Linked DNA regions of Homo sapiens: regions 2 and 3 are each linked to region 1. The links are contacts of gene promoters, found by promoter capture Hi-C in blood cells and fetal thymus (Javierre and others, 2016). All regions are on one chromosome and are shown on one strand. The core of a region is centred on a gene start or on the middle of the fragment in contact, and the rest is flanking DNA. Distances in the headings are between cores, read along the strand shown. Region 1 holds the start of ST3GAL1 (ST3 beta-galactoside alpha-2,3-sialyltransferase 1). Region 2 overlaps ZFAT (zinc finger and AT-hook domain containing). Region 3 holds the start of NCRNA00250 (non-protein coding RNA 250).

The links. Contacts are between HindIII fragments. The CHiCAGO score rates a contact against its expected background, and 5 or more counts as called.
Region 2: a contact is called between a fragment that was not itself captured here and the fragment with the promoter of ST3GAL1 in region 1, in 11 of 17 cell types (naive CD8 T cells, fetal thymus, megakaryocytes and 8 more). The highest score is 13.9, in naive CD8 T cells.
Region 3: a fragment that was not itself captured here is called in contact with the fragment with the promoter of ST3GAL1 in region 1 in 1 of 17 cell types (erythroblasts); the score reaches 7.1 in erythroblasts.

What each region holds. Positions count from the first base shown.
Region 1 is chr8:133,569,446-133,573,136 of GRCh38, reverse strand. It overlaps ST3GAL1 (ST3 beta-galactoside alpha-2,3-sialyltransferase 1), which reads left to right and starts at 1,250. Exons shown (of 10, transcript NM_173344.3): 1 at 1,250-1,444. It overlaps ST3GAL1-DT (ST3GAL1 divergent transcript), which reads right to left and starts at 2,565. Exons shown (of 2, transcript NR_186509.1): 1 at 2,267-2,565; 2 at 1-2,079. RefSeq lists silencers at 501-560, 751-1,240 and enhancers at 3,031-3,250, 2,610-3,463, 3,421-3,490. The HindIII fragment of the contact is 9,717 bases long and covers 1-3,691 here.
Region 2 is chr8:134,680,164-134,684,080 of GRCh38, reverse strand. The region is part of intron 1 of ZFAT (zinc finger and AT-hook domain containing); the gene reads left to right. Among named protein-coding and RNA genes, the nearest start is that of ZFAT, 31 kb to the left of the region's middle. RefSeq lists enhancers at 277-366, 997-1,146. The HindIII fragment of the contact is 3,506 bases long and covers 49-3,554 here.
Region 3 is chr8:134,834,956-134,839,109 of GRCh38, reverse strand. NCRNA00250 (non-protein coding RNA 250) reads right to left here and starts at 1,041. Exons shown (of 3, transcript NR_126028.1): 1 at 801-1,041. The HindIII fragment of the contact is 1,553 bases long and covers 843-2,395 here.

The DNA of each region.
Region 1 (3,691 bases), core at 1-2,500:
CACACATCCGTTGAGTGGCAGTGCAGGATTTGAACCAAGAAGTCCGGCCATGCGGGCCCTGGCCTGAATCCCTGTACTACAGCAGCCGTCTGATGAAACAAAGGCTGGGGGACTCTCCCCTTCCACTGCAAAAGGTTGATCTCTCTCCAGCTGGAGCAAGGGGCGCTGGAAGGATGCAATGACCCCAAAGGCAAACTGTGCCTCTTTCCTCTAACATTCCTCCGAAAAGTTGCGAAAGAGGTAGTCTCAGTAAGGGGTTAAGAACCGTAAAACCAGATTTACATGACTTGTGTACTGCATTTAGCATCAAAGCGCTGCACTCTGCCTTTCAGCAAAAGAAGTCTCCACCGCCCCCGCTTCCCTGTAAAAGAGGGAGGGCTGAATAACTGCAAGCCTAATCCGCAAACCCCAAGCTCCAGCCGCAGCCTCCGCATCTGGAAGGAAAAAGCGGCGGCAGGCGAGCCAGGGCAAGGGCTGGGCCAGGGCCGGGGCCGGGACCAGGGCCGGCCGCAGTGCCCGGCTCTGTGGCTCTGAACGCGGTTCTGGCCGCAAGAGTCGTCCAGCCCACGCTCCTCCCTTCCCCCTCCCTAAATCCCACCTCGAGTCCCGCGCCCTTAGAGGAAGTGGGTGGCTCTGCCCGGTCGCCAGCAGGGGATCGGCCCCTTCTCCCCACCGTGCCCCCGACTCGAGTTCTTCTGGGCACTGCCATCCTCTCGGTGCGTGCCCGTCTTCCTGCTGAAACGGACCCCAGTGGCTCCCGGGCCTCCCGGGCGCTCTTCCTTAGCCCCGCCAGCTTGAGGGCCGCGTCCAGAGAGCGGGGAGCTCCTCTCGGGGCGCCGATCAGGTCCCCGCGCCGCAGCCGCCGCCTCCGGCGTCTCCCAGGCTCGGCCTCTGCCGAGCCCGCTGCGGTCCACGTGGCTTGGCAGAGCTAAATTCGGCTTGCAGGAAGCCCGGAGCCAAGGGAAAGCCGAGCCAAGTTGGGGTGGGCGGGGCCGAACGGAGGCGCAGAGTCGGGAGGGGCGGGCACTGGGCGGAGGAAGGGGAGGGCCGCGCGCAGGGGAGGCGGTGGCTGGGCTCTGGCGCGCCCTGGCACCCGGCCCCGGCCGGCCAGGGAAGGCGGCCCCTCCTCGGTCGCCCCGCCTTTCACTCCCGTTACACCCGGGGGAAGGTGTTCCCGAGCCCTCTCCCACCCTCATCCCGCCTCCTCGCTTCCTCGGCTCCAGCCTCCGCCGGCGGAGCCCACTATGCCAGACAGTTTCGACACTTTGCAAAGACAAAGAGCCCTAGACCGGAGGGAGGAGGAGGAGGAAGAAGAGCGGAGAGAGAAGGAAGAGGCGATGTGAGCTGGGAAGGGGGCAAGTGTCCGGGACACCCACACCCCTGTATTCTCCTCCGAACCCCTTCATGCCCAAATCCCGGAAACTCCAGCGTGTCTCCAGCCGTGGTGAGTGCGCGCGCGGAGGCGAACCCTGCTCGGGGTGCGCGGGGGCTGCGTCCGCCTGAGTTGGGGCTCGGGCAGTTTCCTGTGGATTCTCGGAGTGGAAGGTTGATTGTCTGGACCCGGGAACTGAAGGGGTGGGGAGGGGACTAGGAGGGTGTGACAGTGGAGCTGGGACTGAAGACCCCGGGATTCTAGTGGAAGACATTCGAAGGGAGACCCCTTCCTTGGCAGCGGCGACCACCCAGGGCTTTGGGAGAGGAAGAAGGTCGGGGTGGAGGTTCGGGCTTAGGGGTCTTCGGCCGACACTGGAGGAGCTGCCTGGAGCTCTGTGGGGAACCTACGCCAAGTCCCGGGCAGCGGTTCCCGAAAGCAGCCCCAGTGACATTGCACCCGGCGCCGGGCTGGGATCTCCTCCGCTGGGGCCGCCCGTGGGAGGAGACCTCGCTGGGTGGCCGGGCTCAGGCGCTCTCGAGCGGATTTGGGGTCACAGGCTGGGACACCGCGGAGGCCGCCAGTGTTCTGGACGAGCGGCCGTGGGACAGTATCCGGATCGAGTCCCCCAATCCGCTGCAAGCAGGCGCAGATCCGGGAGGTGGCTATCGGCCCCGGGGACGCCGTCAGAGCGCGCTGCTCCGGATCTGGGGGTGAAGTTGACACCCGGGACAAGAGAGCTGAACGCGGCGTGGCGGACAGTGGGGGACGCGGGTGGGCCAAGGAGAGCACGGCCGGAGTCGTGTTAGTGGCAACTCGAAACTCTGAATCCGCCCCAACCCCGTGAGGCGTCGCAGCTCCCAAGAAATAATCTGACAAAAGTTAGCAACTTGCCTGTGTCTCTCGTGTGTGTGACCTGCGTGGGGGCAGGGCCACCCCTTCTGGGAGCGCACGGGGACGGACAGCGGTGACCCTGGGGCGAGGCGCTCTGGTGAGGGTACAGTTAGTTTGGAATCGGGACGGTGGCGCAACTTTCCGCTCCTCCTTTCTCTGCGCGAGTGTTTAAGCGTGACCTTGCGGGAGGAAGCGCGGCTGAACTTGAGATGGGGGTTGAGCTTGCGCCCCGGCTTGGCACAGAGACGTCGGAGCGCGCATTAGCCTGGCCTTGCAGCCGGGTCTCCCAGGAAGCGTGTGGGGATCGTCTGGCTCTGCTCGTCAGCTGGAGCCCTGACTCGCTCCTCCCTCCTACGCTAGGGTCCTCGGCGGCCGTACCATGCGCGGGGCTCGGTGGTGTGTTGGGCGAGGGGACACGTGCGCACCCAGAAGCGCGCAAGGGGGTGGGGGTTGGGCAGGTCACTGCGTCTCGCGGGCTGGGCGAGTCCCGCAGAGGGAGTCAGCCGTGACCCTGAGGGCAGTGACTGGCTCGCCGCGTCCCTGCATCAGGCATTCGCCCGGCTTTCTCGTGATTGTTTCCGGGCACCCCTGGCCTCTCCCGACTTCTCCCCCTCGCGGGTCCCCAAGCCCCGCAAGTTTGCGACGAGCTGGTTCTCCAGGGAGACAGCGAGCGCCCACCCCCGCTCTGCGGCTGGGTGTGTGTGGTGAGAGGAAGAGACGGGAGGAGGAGGCGAGGCCGACTCGCCAACGAGGAAAACGGGGTGAGAGGGGAGCCGGGTTTTCCAATAGTCGCCAGGGCGCCTGGCACGTCGTAGGTGCTAACGCAGTGTTCATTGACAAGGCCCCAAGGTGGAAGGTGCTGGCAGGGGCCCGGACGCCCCCTTCTTCCCTTCCAGTCTCTAAAATGGAGTTCAAATGTATCGACCAAGCCCTTTAGGCTTCTAGACGTGCCTGGAGCACCTACTACGTGCGGGGGCTCTACTCCTGGCCTGTTCGTAGAAGCTGCGGGCGGAGCCTCCTGATTTTCTTTACCCCGCGCTGCCCAAGCGCCCAGAGGCTTCGAAAAGGCAAGGTGCACTGCCCCCTGCCGGCTGCTGTGGAAACTGCCGCTTGTCTCTGCGGTGGGGAAGGGGCGCCCAGTGCGGGGGTCCCTCAGTGCCTTCCCGCACCTCCCCTTCCTGCCCCAAACATTAGGACCCCTGCCGGCTGTTTTCTGAAATCCCATGGTTGGCTGAAATGACTGACTAGAGTTCACCACTCCGTGCCCCTCAGCCTCTGCCAATATCTGGGTACAGCGTGGGGCCTCTTCTAGTCTCCCGTCTCTCTGTCTCTGTCTCTCTTTGGTCGCCAGACTTAACCTCTCGGCGTCTCAGTTTCTATATCTGCAAAATGAGGCCAATAATACATTCTCCAAAATACGTTCTG
Region 2 (3,917 bases), core at 552-3,051, 1.1 Mb before region 1:
TTCCCCTGTAAGTTAACAGCTTTCCCCTAGTCACCCAAGTGGAAAGCTTTTTATCAGAAGTTGCAAATTGGCAACCCGTAGGCCAGACCTAACCTGCAGATTTGCTTAGTTTGGTCTGCAGGGGCTGCAGAGGTTTTTTTCTTTTCTTTTTTTTCTTTCCCAGAAAAATCTTATTTGATGGCCAGTGCTTAAAAATCAGGGGATTCCAACTACAAATTCAATATTTGGGCCTCCATTGACTAGACCTGGGAGGCAGCTACCCCATCAGACAGAGCAGGCTTTCTAAGTGCCCCACCCCCTGTCTCCAGACCTCCAGGATGGGCCTCCTGCTTGCGGGGCAGGAGCTTCTTGCATCCATTTCCTGTCCAGGTACCGGTCTGTGGCGGGGGGCTCTTGGTGGAGCCGCCACAGCTCTCAGTGTGCCTGCCCTGCCTTTAACCTGTCCTCTTTCCACACTCAAGGCTCTTCCAACAGGCAAGGCTCTTGGTTCTGCCCCCACTGGCTGTGTGGCTTCCACTCCCTTCTCCTTTCCTTCCTCCAGCTGTCTGGCCACCTCCTGGAGCAGTTCAACTTCCCCTTTTCTGACAAACCTCTTCCAGGTGCTCCAGCCACAGGGATCTCTGCCTTCTCCACACGTGCTTCTGTGGCCTGTGGTTAGTATGTTCATATGTAGATGCGCACACATACAACCTGCTTTCCTACCTAATTTTTAAGCTCCTTGCGATTCATCAAGTAGCTGTGGAACCATACAGGCCTGTATTTGATTCTTAGGCAAGTTATAGCTTTCTCATCTGTAACGTGGGATAATCATATCTTTGTGTCTGACACATTAGCAGAGCTACTGTGTACAGCTGTGCAGGTTACACACTGCACAAAGGAGCCACTTCTTCTTTTGTTTTTGTATCCTCCATGCCCCCAAGGGAGCCACTTCTAAGGGGGCTCATTTCACATAGTGAATTTGTATGTTTATTATGAGTTTTCTACAAATGGCTGCAAAGCGTATTATTCCAACAAACTCAATATGTTATGACCATTTTCTGACAGGGGGTGCTAGTGTCTTAAGGAAGGGTGCGTTTGTCCATTTCTCACAGAGGTGCCTTAAGGGCTAGCAGCAACCCAGCTTGTCCAGATCAAATGTGAGAGGGAGTACGAAAGCCTCTGGTACTCAGGAAATGTTTATCTCCTCTCCCTTGAAAGTAGGGTTGTTGTGCTGCCATAGAAGTGAGCTCAGAAGCCAGGCTTACAGCCTGAGTGTGTACGGTGTGCAGAGTGGGGAAAAAGGGCCTTACAGGGGAGGGAGCCGAGGTTGGGAGCCAGGCTCTCTCCCCAGCTAACATCCAGCCTGCCCAGTTATATGGAAATGTTTCTGAACTTCATTGATTCAAAGACTTTTTAATTTAATTTAATTTAATTTTATTTTATTTTTGAGATGGAGTTTCACTCTGTCACCCACAATGGAGTGCAATGGCACAATCTCTGCTCACTGCAACCTCCGCCTTCCAGGCTCAAGCGATCCTCTCACCTCAGCCTCCCCAGTAGCTGTGACCACAGGCAGGCGCCACCACACCCGGCTAATTTTTTGTATTTTTGATAGAGACAGGTTTCGCCATGTCCCTTAGGTGGTCTCGAACTCCTGAGCTCAAGCGATCTGCCTGCCTCAGCCTCCCAAAGTGCTGGGATTATAGGCATGAGCCACCGTGCCCGGCCAGACTTAGATTTTAGCATCTCTAAGATCAGGAGGCAGCTTACAGTTGGTGTGGTGAGAAGCTAGTGTCTCTGAGTTTATTTGGCAGCGTTTTTATCTTTTTTAGTGGTATGTAAAATATCCGTGCTCCCTAAAGTAGATGCTGTCTTAGATTTGAGGAAATACAATAATAAAACCTATTTCACAGGATTGTTGTGAGAATTAAATAAGCCTCGTATGAGCCTCTGCTGGTGCCAGCTCATGGTGAGGGTTTAATTTAACCTCCCTTCTCATCGGCTTCTTCCTCTTTCAATGCCATTGTTTTGGTTACAGCAAGTTTTCCCTAAGTATAATGACGGTAATGAAGTTGATGACATAGTTTATTCACAGCTGATTAAAAGTTCTGCAAGATGAGCTAAATGGAAGGAAAATGTTTGTTCTAACCTGAGTCTCTTCCTGAATATATAAAAAAGATATTTTAAACTGTACTCAGCTGCACATATGAGACTTTATTGATTCCGCTGGATGTGACAGCAATCTGGCTTTATGTTGTTAAAATATTTCCATTCCTATTGGGAAGCTACTGGCCCTTATTAAATTAATAACTTAAGGGCAAATGAAAAACAAGAAAACAAAAGTATAACTCAGAAAGAATTTGCCACCCTACTCCTCTCCTCATAAGATAGATAATTTAATAGGATCTTAGTTTTGGTGGTTGTACTCTCTCTAAAGTTAATAAATACAAGTAAAAGATAGTTACAAAGCAGGGAGGATGATTTATACTAATCAAGGAGAAGAAGTAAGAGATGTTTAATCTAGAGCTTTTAAACAGAGTAATGTACTAGTCTCATAATGTAGCATTTTGTCTTCTTGAGGGCATTGATAAATGGTTAATCATTTTGTAATAATCAGATCATCTAGCACTTATGGAGTGCCTACTGTGTCAGCAGCATCATCGCTAAGGGGAAGCTGGCATTGGGCTGGTGAGGCTGTCACTGCAGGTAATGAGTACAGGTGGTATGAAAGGCAGTGGGCAAAGGTGTGGCAGAAGCCAGCCCTTCAGACCCTGCCTCTCCCCACCAGCTGGTGTAGAGGGTACTGGGCAGAGGTGTGGGGTCCACAGCCAGCCCTTCAGACCCCAAACCTCCCCACCAGCTGGTATAGAAGGTACTGGGCAAAGGTGTGGGGTCCATAGCCAGCCTTTCAGATCCCAAACTTCCCTCCCAGCAGAGATGGGCACATTCACTGGGCTGCATTCTGTGTGTGCCTCTGGGAGCTGCCTCCTTCTACCTTTCTGAGCCTTACATATCTTCCAGGGTAGTTGGGACTGACTGGGCTCATGGATAAGCCACCTAGCAGTGTACATGATCTTCTCAAAATTATTGTTTGTTCCAGAAGATCCAGAGTCTTTTTGTTTGCCACAGTTATTTTTTTAAATGTGTATTTTGAAATAATTATAGATTCACAGGAAGTTGTAAAGATAATACAGAAGTCTCACATACCTTTTACCCAGTTTACCCAAAAGTGGTTTACATTTTTAAAATAAATATAAAATATACACAACACAACACAAAATTTACCATTTTAATCATTTTTCGGTAGATAGTTTAGTGGCATCAGGTACGTTAGTATTATGTAACCATCACCATCCTTGATCTCTAGAACTTTTTTTTTATTATCCCAACCTAATAGTTACATCTTATGTAACTAACTATCATACAATATTAAACCAAGAAATTGGTGCCGGTGCAGTGTGTTGTGTATAGTTTGAATCCATTTTTATTGGTGTACGTTTGTGTCATTACTCCTGCAGTCAAGATGCAGCACTGTTTGTTGCCATTTGATCTGTGTGAGTGAAGTGTAGAAAGCTTCCCACCATTTACATCCTTTTACCATCCCTCATTTTTTTTAAAAAAGGTACTCAAATATGTTAATTTTATTGTTTCTCAATACACACATTTATTTGTACTGAAAATTGTAAAAGTAGCACAAAGTTTCTTTTTATTACAATCCAAATTTTTGAAAGCCAGAAAATCCAATTATTATGCTCTAGCCAAACTATCATCCAGTGCTTTCTTTACATTCTTTCCCCACAAGTGACTTTGCTTCAAATTCTTTTTTTTTTTTTTTTTTTTGAGGGGGAGTCTGGCTCTGTCACCCAGGCTGGAGTACAGTGGTGCGATCATGGCTCACTGCAATCTCTGCCTCCAGGGTTCAAGCGATTCTCCTGCCT
Region 3 (4,154 bases), core at 370-2,869, 1.3 Mb before region 1:
GCTTGTTTAAAATATCCCTGAGCTAGGAAGTAGCTCTTACATACTTAAGTCTTAAGCCATTTTTTTTCAAAGACTATTCCTTTTTTTTTTTTGACTGAATCTCTCTGTAGCACAGGCTGGAGGGCAGTGGTGCAAACACAGCTCACTGCGCCTCCACCTCCCAGGCCCAAGTGATCGTCCTACCTCAGCTTCCCTTGTAGTGGGAACTACAGGCACCCACCACCATGCCCACTAGTTTTTGTATTTTTTTGTAGAGACAGGGTTTTGCATTTTGCCCAGGCTGGTCTCAAATTCCTGGGCTTAAGCAATCCTCCTGCCTGGGCCTCCCAAAGTGCTGGGATTACAGGCGTGAGCTACCGTGCCTAGCCCATGTATTCTTTAAGTACACTGACGTCATCTCTGTGGGTGGTAACACTGGGCAAGTTGCTTACGTGTCCTGAATTTGTTTCTCCAGCGATAGGACAGGATAATAACATCCACCTTACAAAGCGATTACGAAGCTTAAATATCTGGCATACATAAAGTATCTAGCAAAGCACTTGCACATGGTGGCCACTCAATAAACAGTTATTAGCATTCACTAATGAGGATACTGATTAGAATTATCATGATTATTACTGAGCCATGAAACTAGAGGTTTTAAGTTACTATTTAAAATAGTGCAAGACTCTATTCAATAGCCTCAGAGCATTTGGCAGGAATAATTTGGCTGTTGATTTTGAGTGCATCTGACAGGAACAGGAATGACTTTTGCAGCTCCCCTGGATGCATGGATGTTATTGTAATTTAACAAAACTCACCTCTCCAGTTGCTAGTGCATTTTGTCTGTTGGCCTCAAAGCTTGGCTCAAATTGTCAGGCCAATGGAAAGACTGAATGCTTTGCCTCCAGGCAAAATTGTGGCCTGCAGAGGGTGGACCCTGCATTGCATCTCAGCGAGAACGGAAAGCTCACTCAGCATGCTGCAGTCTTTCATACTGATTTTGACATAAAACATCAGGCGGAAATTCCACTTCTGACTCTGCAGTAATTGTGGAGGAGCCAGAGGGCCATCCAAACACAGATGTCTGGCATGACGCTGCACACCTCACGAGGTCACAGGACAGACATTGCAGAGAGATCGTGATGATCATGCATAAAGGAGAGCCCACCATCTTCAGGGCGCAACTCATTCATTCTTCCTCCTTCATTGTTCCGGAGTTACTGTGAATAGTCAAGATTATTGTTTCAGACTTTTTCCAATGTCTTGACTTACAATGGCGAGAAAGATGTTGATGCTGGTAATAATAGTAAAAATGGTGAAAGTTTTTCCAGAGTTTCAAATGATGGAACTCTGCATCCTACTATTGTGTAGCATGTGTGAGTACGTGTGTGTGTGTGTGTGTGTATGTGAGTACGTGAGTGTCTGTGTGATTCAACATATGTATGTGTGTATTGATTCCTCCTGAGTAGCCCCCCCCAACCCTTTTTTTTTTTAACTAAGTATGTCAGCTTCTGGAACTGCACATAACAGTTTTCCAGCAGTGACACTCATGCATAGCACAGCCATCAAAGACCTGGAAGCCATGTAATACAGCTGACCTTTGAACTAGGGGAACAACCCCTGTATGCGCAGTCAAAACTCCCAAGCATAACTTTTGAATCCCCAAAAACATAACCATTAGTAGCCTACTGTTAACCAGAAGCCTTACTGATAACATAAACAGTCGATTAACCCATATTTTGTTATATGTATTATATACTGTGTTCTTATAATAAAGTAAGCCAGAGAAAATAACATTAATGAAAAAATCGTAAGGAAGAGAAAATATATTTCCTCTTCATTAAGTGGAAGTGGATCATCATAAAGCTCTCCATCCTCATCATCTTCATGTTGAGTAGGATGAGGAAGAGGAGAAAGAGGAGAGGTTGGTTGTACTGTCAGCAATGGCAGAGGCAGAAGAAAATCCAAGTATAGCAGCTCAACGAAGTTCAAACCGGGTGGTTCAAGGGTCAACTGTAAAGACTACTAGAGGCAGAGGCTCACTTAATTGCATGTTCAGAAATTAAGAGTTTAACATTATTAGAATATGCAAAGGCATACAGAGTGACATAATGGACTTTATATCACTTTATATCATTTATATATAATGGACTCAGAAGCAAGAGGGTGGGAGTGGGGAGCCAGGGATAAAAACACTACACATTAGGTACAATGTACACTACTTGGGTGATGGGAGCACTGAAATCTCAGAATTCATCACTATATAACTCATCCATGTAGCCAAAAATGACTTGTATCCTAAAAGCTATTGAAAAAAAAGAATTTAAAATTGTTAGTATGAGCAGCTCCACAAATTTGGGGTGCAAATATGGTCATATTATTTACTTTTCCAATTAATTCATTGAGTAAAGCTTGCTGCTATAACAACAACAAACAAACAAATTTTCAGTTATTTCTCGCTCATATAACCATCTAAATTAGATGTTTCTGGTTGGAGGGCAGCTTTCCTCTACAGAATGATCCAGGGCTCAAAGCATAATTATACTCTTTTCTGGCCAGTGGGGTCTTGCACCCACTCTACTAAGGTAGCTTTCCCTAGGGCTCCCAGGAGACTCCTAACAAAGCCAACTTAACTTTCTGTTACCTCTTCTGATAACGCCAGGAGGAAAAAAATTATGTAAAAGCTTTATATTCACTGAGGCATCCTACTATATTGAATTGTCTGAAATGAAAGAACATTTCATCTCCAGATTTTAATAGATGATTGTCTATGAAATAAAGAGGATTTAGAGGCCAGGCACGGTGGGTCATGCCTGTAATACCAGCACTTTGGGAGGCTGAGGCAGGCAAATCACTTGAGGTCAAGAGTTCGAGACCAGCATGGCCAACATGGTGAAACCCCATCTCTACTAAAAATACAAAATTAACCAGACATGGTGGCAGGCACCTGTAATCCCAGCTACTCAGGAGGCTGAGGTAGGAGAAGTGCTTGAACCCTGGAGGTGGAGGTGGCAGTGAGCCGAGATCGTGCCACTACACTCCAGCCTGGGCAACAGAGCCAGATTCCATCTCTAAAAAAGAGGATATAGAGGACATCTTCATATTATAAAATGGCATAAACTGAAAAAAACATAAACATAAGCTGATATTTTAAAGAAATCAGTTAATGGTGTTTCTAAGATTTGTAGTTGGTGCTCAATACATTTATAGAACCAGGCTTTTGAATCATGCCTGAAACTTAGCAGCTCAATTGTCATTTTTTAGAATAAATGAATGGTAATGACATCAGTCTAATAAGCATTTTGAAACATGCGCAAATCTTTAGATATAAAATTTGTACATTAAAATAAGTTTTTGAGATGACAATTGGTAGATATCCCACAAATGTTTATTTCTATTATCGAAGATATCATCAGGATAATTTAGATTGCCAAAGTAGACAGAGACATGCCATGTACATGTCACTCAGGACTGCTACATATGTTCATAGAGGTTGAGCACTGCACAGTCCCAGAGGATGCCATTCACAGACTCCCATGCAAATAGCTTCCCTGGGTTTGTGCAGTGCATACTGTGCATGCAGCTGCCTAATTTGAATACATCAGTCCTAACAGGCCGTAAGGGTAGTGCAGCTGATTCACCTTGTTCATCACCAGGACTGATTGAGCTGGTCTGGCTGAGTACTGCGTTCTCACTTCATGTCCCCACTGCTTCCTCGTTTACCACCTCCTCCCACAAGCTTACGTTCTCGGAAAGATATTGGCCTTCCCTGATAGAAGCACCCTCCTGTCAAGGATGTGCTTATAACCTCACCTGAGCCCATGCACACTCCAGAGGACCCTCAGTAATCCTGGAGCAGGAGAGCCCCTAAAATGGGAACTGAATGTTCTTTCTCTCTTAGTAATAAGGTACTTAAACACACACACACAGTGGCATTTTTTTTAATCCAACTTTTTGAGGATTGCCTATTAAATACCAAGAGACATCTTAGCTCTCTGTTAATTCACAATGTCACTAATTCAAAGATGTTCTCATTGTTTAGCCTCCAAAAAAAGCCTTAGATGGGTCCTTCAGATCCCAATGGCCAATTTTAAACATCTTATCCTTATATGTTCAATATTTATATTTTAAAACATAAAATGTAAGTTCTAAGTCTGTCTATAGAGTCTGGG